Regions from separate parts of the Homo sapiens genome. Here regions 1 and 3 are each linked to region 2. The links are contacts of gene promoters, found by promoter capture Hi-C in human tissues and cell types (Jung and others, 2019). All regions are on one chromosome and are shown on one strand. Each heading gives the region's core, a stretch centred on a gene start or on the middle of the fragment in contact. The rest is flanking DNA. Distances are from core to core; before and after follow the strand shown. Region 1 overlaps DPYSL3 (dihydropyrimidinase like 3). Region 2 holds the start of DPYSL3 (dihydropyrimidinase like 3). Region 3 overlaps JAKMIP2-AS1 (JAKMIP2 antisense RNA 1).

Evidence for each region. Contacts are between HindIII fragments. The study calls those that stand out against the background at their distance.
Region 1: a fragment that was not itself captured here is called in contact with the fragment with the promoter of DPYSL3 in region 2 in 5 of the 25 tissues and cell types used here (H1 embryonic stem cells, IMR-90 fibroblasts, bladder and 2 more).
Region 3: a contact is called between a fragment that was not itself captured here and the fragment with the promoter of DPYSL3 in region 2, in 3 of the 25 tissues and cell types used here (H1 embryonic stem cells, aorta and thymus).

Annotation. Positions count from the first base shown.
Region 1 is chr5:147,434,584-147,437,731 of GRCh38, forward strand. All of the region lies in intron 1 of DPYSL3 (dihydropyrimidinase like 3), which reads right to left. Among named protein-coding and RNA genes, the nearest start is that of DPYSL3, 74 kb to the right of the region's middle. The HindIII fragment of the contact is 4,116 bases long and covers 1-3,148 here.
Region 2 is chr5:147,508,064-147,511,337 of GRCh38, forward strand. DPYSL3 (dihydropyrimidinase like 3) reads right to left here and starts at 2,005. Exons shown (of 14, transcript NM_001197294.2): 1 at 1,415-2,005. The coding sequence starts at 1,795. The HindIII fragment of the contact is 5,398 bases long and covers 1-3,274 here.
Region 3 is chr5:147,573,047-147,576,075 of GRCh38, forward strand. All of the region lies in intron 1 of JAKMIP2-AS1 (JAKMIP2 antisense RNA 1), which reads left to right. Among named protein-coding and RNA genes, the nearest start is that of JAKMIP2-AS1, 15 kb to the left of the region's middle. The HindIII fragment of the contact is 3,633 bases long and covers 1-3,029 here.

The DNA.
Region 1 (3,148 bases), core at 536-3,035, 74 kb before region 2:
TACTAGCCATGAAGTTGAATACAGAAGGTGAATAGAGAAGTAAAGATAAAACAGTTAGAAAAGTAAGCCAGGATCGCAAATAGTAATGTGACCTAAAATGACGAAGAGTAAAACTATAGAAAGACAGTAAAATGATCAGTGGTTACCAGTTGGGGCGGGGGGTAGGGGAACAGGGAGGGGATGAACTGGTGAGTAAGCGGAGCACTGAAGTGGCTCAGAGCAGTGAAACTGTCCTAGACGATACTGCAATGATAGACACATGACATTTTTCATTTGTTAAGACCCGTAGAACTACTCAACAATGAGTGAGTTCTAATGTAAACTGGACTCTCTTCAATGTATCAATATTGGTTCATCTATTGTAACAAGCATACCACACCAATGTAAGGTGTTAATAAGAGAGGAAACTTGGGGGTGAGGAGGGAGTGAGAAAGAGTCTATGGGAGCTCTCTGTACTTTGTGCACAATTTTTCTGTAAGCCTAAAACTTCTCTAAAAAACAAAGTCTATTAATTAAGAAAGGTGGGGGGAAGAGAGAGAGAGAGGAGAGAGGCAGGCAGAAAAATCTTTTGTCTGGCAGAGATTAAAGGATCCACAGAGGCCTTGCCTAAGTGAATCTAAGGTAAATAGCTGATTTGTACACGTGGGTATGGCCAACGGCAATTATGATCACAGCGTGTTACAATAATTCATAATTACCATTTACTGAAAACTTCTTATTTGCTGAAAACAGGTAGAAGCTTTAAGTACATGTTGTTCAATCAATCTTCAAGTGCTATGAATTATATGCTACTGTCATTCCTATTGCATTGATGAAGACATGGAAGCTTAGGGAGGTTAGCTCATGGTCCAATATTACACAACCAATCATTGGGAGAACCAATGGTATCGATGCAAGAAATGCATCTCTATAAGAGATTGTGGAGTTAGGCACCCTCCTTCTTCCAAAGCTTAAGATACTGGAATAAGGGATGCAAACGGCTGCCAACTAGGAAGTTTGACCTTTACTATGTAGTAGCCCTAGAAGGATCTTCAAAAAATAAGTAAAATAGTCAATCATAGGGTCAAAAAATCAAGCTGACAGAGGCCCATGCTGGAGATAAAGGAAGGAAAAACTTAGAAACAGCAAGTGGCAGGGGGAAAAAAAACAAAACAAAATAAGAAAAGACCTTTAGCATGCTGGGTGCCAGCAGGAAACAGATAAAATTATTAAGAAGTTATTAAGGAGAATTTAACAAAGAAATTACTTAACAAAGTGTGGGCAGTGTTTAGGGCAAATAAATGGATATGCAGCATCCAGGGCCTACCAGCATCAGGGAGCCATTGCCAAGGCCAGAAGAGGGAAAGGGGAGGGAGTGGTTATTGGAAGTGGAGACTGTAGCTGTATGGAGAGGGCTGCCTGGCAGGAGCCGTAACCTTCAGCAGAGACATGCAGCTGCCCCACAATGACCTAGTGATAGGAAGGAATCAGGGGAAAATACCCCGACTTCATTGTTCACTCTCCCTCTAATCTCCTATTGGTGCCCTAAGAGCTAAATGCAACCAGAAGCCCAAGGGCAAAGAAACCAACTAAGGCACACCATACACGGAGTATGGAGCAGGGTAGACAAAGGTGGAGAGGATATCTGGGGATGCAAGCAGGAAATACCCAGCCCAGGCCCTGAATAGCCAACAATGGGATGTGATTTAATAAACTATGATATCACCACAAATATGGATTATGATTATTATGGCCACCTTTAAATCTATATCATGAACTGAAGAAATATCTAAAATAAGTAAGTTCTGGAGCAATATGCAAAATATGATGTAGTTCTTGTCAAAGCAAACAAAAAATGCTGTATGTAAATATGTTTATTATATTTTTGTGTGAGCTGATCTGGAAGAAAGTTCCAGAAGGATGCACATCATATTATTAACATTGGATGTTGTAGAAGGAAAGGATGCAGAGAGAGGTTGTAGGGGTCCTTTTAAACTTTTTCTTCTCTCTCTTCTATTTATTTACATTATTTCTCTAGTTGCATATGCGTAATGTACTTTATAACTTTTAAAAGGAACTTAATAAAGAAAATTATAAAAAAGTAAAAGAATGTGGTAATTGCTGTGGTCCAGTGTGACAGGAAGAATATGGATTAGAAAATGCAATGGCATACTGCAGAAGAAAGTGTCAATCAACTAAGTAACTGAAGAGGAAGGGAAAGTGACGCAGATGCAGACGTGCCAAACCAGACTGAGTTTTAAAGCAGCATGTCTACAGAGGACCCATTAATAGACACAGGAAACAGAAAAAGGACTAACAAAATTGAAGTGTAAGACTAAGAATAATTTTGAGGTACTGGTCAACCATACAGCAATGTAGCAGGTCACTGAAATGGTGGCCTGGGATTTAAGAGAAAGGTCAGGTGTTAGTGGACGGGCTTGAGTTAATGCCACGCTGAAAATGGCTGTGCCAACTGAAAGGCAGAAAAGAAGGGTGGAAAGATCCCTAGAATGGGAGTCGGGAGCCAAGGATTCCGGTCAAAGTTCTGTGATCCCCTTCGCCTTTCCAAGAGGCTGTGCCGTTAATGGTACCCAGCTCCCTCTTAAGAAGCAGCTCTCTCTTTTCATCTTTTCTGACTGACAGCTGGCTTTGACAGGGCCTTTACAATGACAAAGACGTCGAGTGAATTCCCACCCTATTGCTTCTCAGAAACAAGAAACCTTTTCACCAAATCTGAAAGCCCGCCAAAATGCAACTCCCAGAGGAGGAATGCGGGCTCAGGCCTTGGAATGTGTGAGAAGCACCTTCAAATGACAGGCAATAGCTCCCCATCTATTTGTGGAGGCCACAGGGATTCTTCTTCAAGTCTGACATTGTATTTTTAAAGCTTGTGGGAGCTTCTTGGGGATTGTGGTCATAAGCACACAACCACTGGCTTATGTAACTTCCTAAAACTGTCCGTGGTGTGCAAGTCTAACAGAACACTCAGCTGTGGTGCTCCAGTCACACCAGGCGGCCATGAAGAGGGCCCCATGGAGAGTGTGGAAGGAAGGAATTGTCTCAAAGACCACAGATGTCTTCCAGTTTGCTCTGCCTTGTAGTCCAGACCTCAAAGATTAGGTCTATCATACAGGAGTGCAAAGAGGGTCCTCATTGTTAAAGCAGTCCA
Region 2 (3,274 bases), core at 755-3,254:
TTTGCAAAATATCAGAAGTTTTCCCTAAAACGTTGGTAAGCAAGGGCTTAGGGGAATCACGCACTAAAAGGATGATGTGAAAATCACAAACTAAATGAATGATTTCAGAGGAAGCCGACATTGTTTTCCAAGTGGTACCCTTGAACAGCACTAACTTCAGCACTTATTTTCCCTGGTGGTCTTAGTAGTCAAAGGTTGGTTGGTTGGTTTGTCTAAACTTTCAAAAATCAAACAGTGAACAGAGATGCTGTTCTTTCACTAGCTCATTGCATTTTAATGGAAAAACAACTAAAACCTGAATAAGCATTAACTGTAATTGCTCTGAGGCAGACATTTCCATTTCAGGTTGTTATTCCTAACCATATTAGTGCAGAATAATACATGCGGATGGATTTTGCGGCCATTACCTAGACAAGGGTGAGGGCATCTGATTATTATTATTCCCCAACTGAAAGCTTCAGTTTGAACTCTGAAGTCTCCAGCCCTGCCAGGCCCTGCATTTTCTGAACTACATCTCTGAGTCTCTGTGAAATAGACACATAAATCAGGGCAAGCTAGATTTCAATGCCATCCCTTCAGTCAGTTCAGTGTGACATAAGTTTCTCAAAAATACACATACAGAAGAAATTGGCTTTGGCACATTTAAGAGCAGCAGGGAATTTGCATCTCATGCTAGTTTAATGTGCACTCTTAATACTCTCGTCTATTTTCTAAAATATAATGCTATTCTTGCAGAGGCAGCTGGACCCCTGTAATACCCAGTCTTGTGCCAAGCTATGTACACAAATACACTCTTTACAAACACAGATGTGAAATGCCGTGCTAAGACACAAGCGAGGCATAGAGAGAGATTCGCGTGTTTAGTCTAGAGGCTCCACACCCAAAAGTTTCAGGGACAGAGCTGATGTTTGAAGACTGAGAGGGGAGACCGCCCCTCCAGTACTTTCATCCGGGCACTATGGAGATGACCCCCATATTCCCAGCATCACTTTGCCCTCTGCCGTGGTGACCCGGGTTGAGATTTAATCTAGGGCCAGAGGGGGGCAAGACAATTGTGCTGTTGGCTACTAGAGAGAAGAGCTGGAAATCACTAAGCCTTCCCGGGCTGACACACCCACCCAGACCGGATGGCCCAGGAGTGCGGCGAGGAGGCAGGGGCAAAGGACGCGGCTCCAGGCAGGGGAACCCGGGCATCCCTTCCGCGCTTGCACGAAGATGCTGCAAGTGGCGACACGCGCGAATCCAGGGTCTGGGCTAGGAAGTCGCGCTACGCTCAGTGGAGGATGACCCTTTCCTCCTCCTTGTCCCCCAGCCCCGTGCAAAGTGAGCTGGAGAAAGTTGTGCCCGGGCCATGGCGGCCAGGGCTGGAGAAAGGAACGAAGGCAAGGAGGGAAGTGACCCGGGGCCCCCTTACCTTGTCCTTGGGGCCGAGGTTCTGCAACACCTCTTTGCCGGTGGCGCTCCGGATCTCTACCCCGGCGGGGGCGGGGGAGGCGGGCGCGGGCTCCCTGCTCTCTTCCCGGCCTTGGCCCCTGCGCGGGGTGTCCCCCTCGATCCCGGGCCGACTCCCCGATCCTCGGTCGCTGCCCTGGCCGCTCCGAGGAGTCTTCGCGCCCCGCTGCCCCACGCTGAGGGCATCGAAATCCAGCGTCTTGCTCTCGAAGGCGCCCTCCACGTTGCAGAACATGCCGCCGTATTTCTGCCGCGGGACCTGGTCCGTGGTGCCCGGCCTGGCCAGGTACACGGGCAGATCGTCTTCGTGGGAGCTGTCCCAGCCCCTCCGGCCCGAGGCCATGGTTCAAGCACGAAAGCGGCCCGCGGGTTTTTCTTCCCCAGAGGCGGAAAGGGCAGCCGCCGGCAGCGTGCGCCGAGCCACAGTGACTGTGGCGGGAGGAGGCGCCTGAGCCTTCGCGCCAGAGGCGGCAGTGCTGCTCCGATTCCTGCTTGTCCCTAGCGAGCCAGCGAGCCACACAGCCAGCTAGCGCGCGGAGCAGGGGCCCAGAGTAGCGCCGCGCTTGGCTCACTCGCTGGACCTCTCGCCCGGCCGCACCTCCTCACGCACCCCCAACCCTAACGTGGCCTCCCGGGCTGACGCAGCGTCGGTGCCCATCACAATCACAAACCAAACTTGGCGCGCGCGCACACGCACACACAGGCGCACACTGCCCGCTCGCGCAACAGCCTTGCCTCACACACTTTCGCGCAATTTAGACGTCTTAGAAATGTTCACACTCCAGCACTTGACTGCTTCACCCACACTAACTCCCTAGTTTGCCTCACAAACACAAAGCTTTCTGACGTCCCTCGTGCACAAAAACCCAGCTGACCCAGGTGGATTCATCTCAAAGCCAAGTCCTGATTTACAACTAACACATACAAACTCAAATTTACGACAGACTCACAATCCTACCCGGAACCCCGGACTTGCCTCATCCTGATCTTTAGGATGACACTCATAACTACACCCAGTTCTAGAATCTGCCTTGCAAACCCACACTCTCACATGAAGTCCTGAATTGGCTTACACACACAACACAAACACACACTGAGAGAGAAGCCCTCTTACTTCATTGAGAGTCACAAAAGCCCTTTGGCTCACATAAGCCCTTTCTTAGCTTCTATATAATATCCTAGTTTGCTTTTTACCACCCCTAATTTGCCTCATTTCAGATCACACACACACACACACACACACACACACATTCTTAGGTTTTGCCTTGCAAAGCACTCTTCATTGATGCTCTGTCCCTCATACAACAAACCCCAGATTTTAATCTCACACACTGACACAAGTCCAGGTTTACCTCAGTCGGAACCGACACTTAGATTCACACCTAAGCCCAGATTTACTTCAAAAATCACACAACCAAAGACTTTGCTTTTCATGTTACCTCAGATGTATGCAGACTTTACTTATGTACATCTGTGCTTTCATAACCTCATTCTCTTCCCCACGTCCACCCACGTATACTCTGACGCCGACTCTGCCACATAAACAGAACCTGCAAACTACATACCTTACATCATATCTGCACACACCACCTAAACCCAAAACCTGTTGTGCCGGATTTAACTGTGCTCCCTCTCAGAAAGTCACCCATTTATTTATTTAGTCAACCAACATAAATCAGGTACCCACTATGGCTTTCACAAGATGCTGGAGCAACAGTGTCGAACAAGAGAGATCGGCCTGTCCTCACCAAGAATGTAGTCTATTACCACCCATCTAGGTAGCACAGCCGTTCACTGTTCTGCTCAACTTACAGAACTTTGT
Region 3 (3,029 bases), core at 525-3,024, 65 kb after region 2:
ACTGTGCTGAGTTTTTAAAATTATAAAGCTGGCTAGATCTGTAATGTGGTTTAGCTCATTACTGAAATATTTAGCAAAGTAAACCCTGTGACAAAACATCAAAATTAACATTTTAATTTTTTATTAATACTGTATTATCATATTGGTGGCCTCGAGATATAGATAAAAAGAGGACAGTGTGGTCAAAAGCTTCAGCTAATGAAACAGAGCAGGAAGTCAAATATAAAAAGCCTAGTTGTCAATCAAGGTTCTAAGGCATTTTGAAGTTAATGTTCAGTGTTTTTGCATTTTTTTTTTCTGAAACCTTAGTGGGCTGAATCTCTCAATGCCTCCTTTCTTAGCGCTATGGTCTCTGAGAACAGGAAATACAATAACTCAACTTATAATTTTAAAGGCCTTAATTTTAGAGCCAAAACATGGTCCCACAGGCTCTGGTCTCATCATCTATGAAATCTGATACTCCACTGTATGGGTATAAATATATATGTGTGTGTGTGTGATTTGAAGTTTACTGATTCTTACAGTTTAACATCAGGTTCTTCTGTTAAGTTCAATTAAATTATTTACATGTATTTAAAAATAGAATCTATTTTGGAACTCTATTTCTCTAAAAGTAGCATCAACTCTTTCCTTTTCTATCTGTATATGTACACCAAAAGATGTCTAGAATGCTGTCCACCTAATGATAATCACGATTATTTCTGTGTGGTATGATTTTGGGGCAAACTTTGCTGTCATCTACGTATTTTCCTATATTGCTTGAGGGTTTTTTAATATAGCTTTTTTATCTTAAAATAGTTATAAACTCTACAGTAAGTTGGCAAATTAGCACATAGTGCACCATACCTTTCACTTAGCGTCTCCCTATGGTAACAACTTAAGTAACTAGAATAAAATGGCAAAATCAGGAAACTGCCATTGGGACCGTGCAAACTGCAGACTGTATTCAGATTTCACCAGTTTTTCCATGCACTCATTTGTGCTGTTACTCCACCTTAACTCTACGTATTCCTTTGTAGCCCTGCTATGAGGGGTGGGGTTGGGTAGGGAGCATATTGAACTTGACAGGGATAAACACACACCTGCTTTGAAAAGTCACACTGTTTGTCATTGGCCGGAAGTAACCTCATCCTTCCAAAATTATTGGTAGTGATGTGCCTGAGCTGGCTTGTGTCAGTCCTGGAGGCCATTTGTTAAATATTTAGGAATTTTGTCATTGGTAGTTTGAAATCAGCTATGGTGAAATAATTACCTTGAAGAAATCTGCAGAGTATAAATCAAGCCCCCCACCCTCGCTTCCTAGAGCCTGTTTACCAACACAATACTCTTGGTACGACATTTACAGTTGTCCTGGTTAATCCCCGTTCCCCATGTGCCTCTCATCTGGGTCTCTCAGTAAAACATATTTCCCTAATAGGACATTCCCTTATCATACATGATGCTTCTTTTCCTTTCAGGGTTTCCAAATAGAGCAGCTAAATAATTTAGTAAAAAGGCAAGGCTTTCTGTTAATGGATTCTAATATCTTATTATATGATCCTTCTGGGTAAATTACCTCCATTTTGCCCAGGGACTTCCTGGAATATAGATACATATTTAACTCCAAGACGACATTTGAGGATGTGTGTGTTTGCGGGGGTAGCGATTGGGTAGAATCCTTTCAGCCCCCCTCAGTTCCCACCAAGCAGGCAGCTGTTGATCTCACGCACACTCAGGGGCCTTCACTCCTCCTGGTCCTGTCCCTTTCCTTCTAGAAATGCCAGAAATGCAGGGACTCACTGAGTCCCTTCTGTTGAGGCAGATCACGGGAACTGGGAAAAGAACCTTGGTTTAAACTTGAAAAGGAAGTAAAAAACCTTAGGGATTCTTTGTGGATAACAGTGTGGATTCATAACCTTCTAGGTAGTGAAGCGCCATATCCTTTTGTCTTTAGTGAGAAAGACAGAGCAGTGAAAAAGAGGGAAGTGAGCTATGTTCCCTCTTAATCCTTAGTACATTAATTGGAACAGAAAAAGAGGAAAACAAAAACAAGACAAAACGTTCCTATTCTCTATCCTCCCCTTGTCTAAAAGTGTTGCTAACATTTAATAGATGTGTAGATTAGCTCTTACATGTGTAGCCTATTCCAGGTGTAGCCTGTTCCAGGTGCATGGAGGAATATTAAAGACATTTATTAAAGACATTTATATTAAAGACATTTATGTCTGGAGGCAAAATTACACTGGCAACATAATAGTGAAATGAACATAAGCTTTGGAATCAGATCTGAATTCGGATTCTGACTTGGCCACTTATTGGCTGAATAAATCTGGGCAAGTTACTAAACTTTTATTTGTTACTTTCTTCCTTAGTAAATGCAAATTTGTTAGGAGCATGAATGATAATGATTGGGCTTCTACCCTGTACCAGGCATTTTATGAATATTTTAAATAATGTTTTAATTTAATTTAATTCAATCCTTACCATAAGCCCAGATTATATTATTTTTATTTTATGGATGAGAAAATTGAGCCTCAGAGATGTTCATTAAGTCGATCAAGGTCATATAGCTAATGGGGAACAGAGCTGGGATTCAAACATAGTATTCTAAAGCCTATATCCTCAGATCACTCTAGAGGCCATATAGCCAATTTAAAAATGCATGAAAAATTTTTATACATCGTAGGGACTCAGTCATTGTTATATTGTTATTTATTTAATATATAGTGAATTATATGTTAGTTATATTGATAATTATATTAAGATATATTATATAGGATTATATAATAAACTTTAATTATTAGTAGTAGTATTATTTTTTGAGACTGGGTCTCACTCTGTCACCCAGGCTGGAGTGCAGTGGTACGATCTTGGCCCACTGCAACCTCTATCTCCCGGGTTCAACTGATTCTCGGGCCTCAGCCTCCCAGATAGCTGGGACTACAGGTGCCCACCACCATGCCCAGCTAATTTTTGTGTTTTTAGTATAGACAGGGGTTTCACCAGGTTGGCCAGGCTGGTCTCGAACTCCTGACCTCAAGCGATCCACC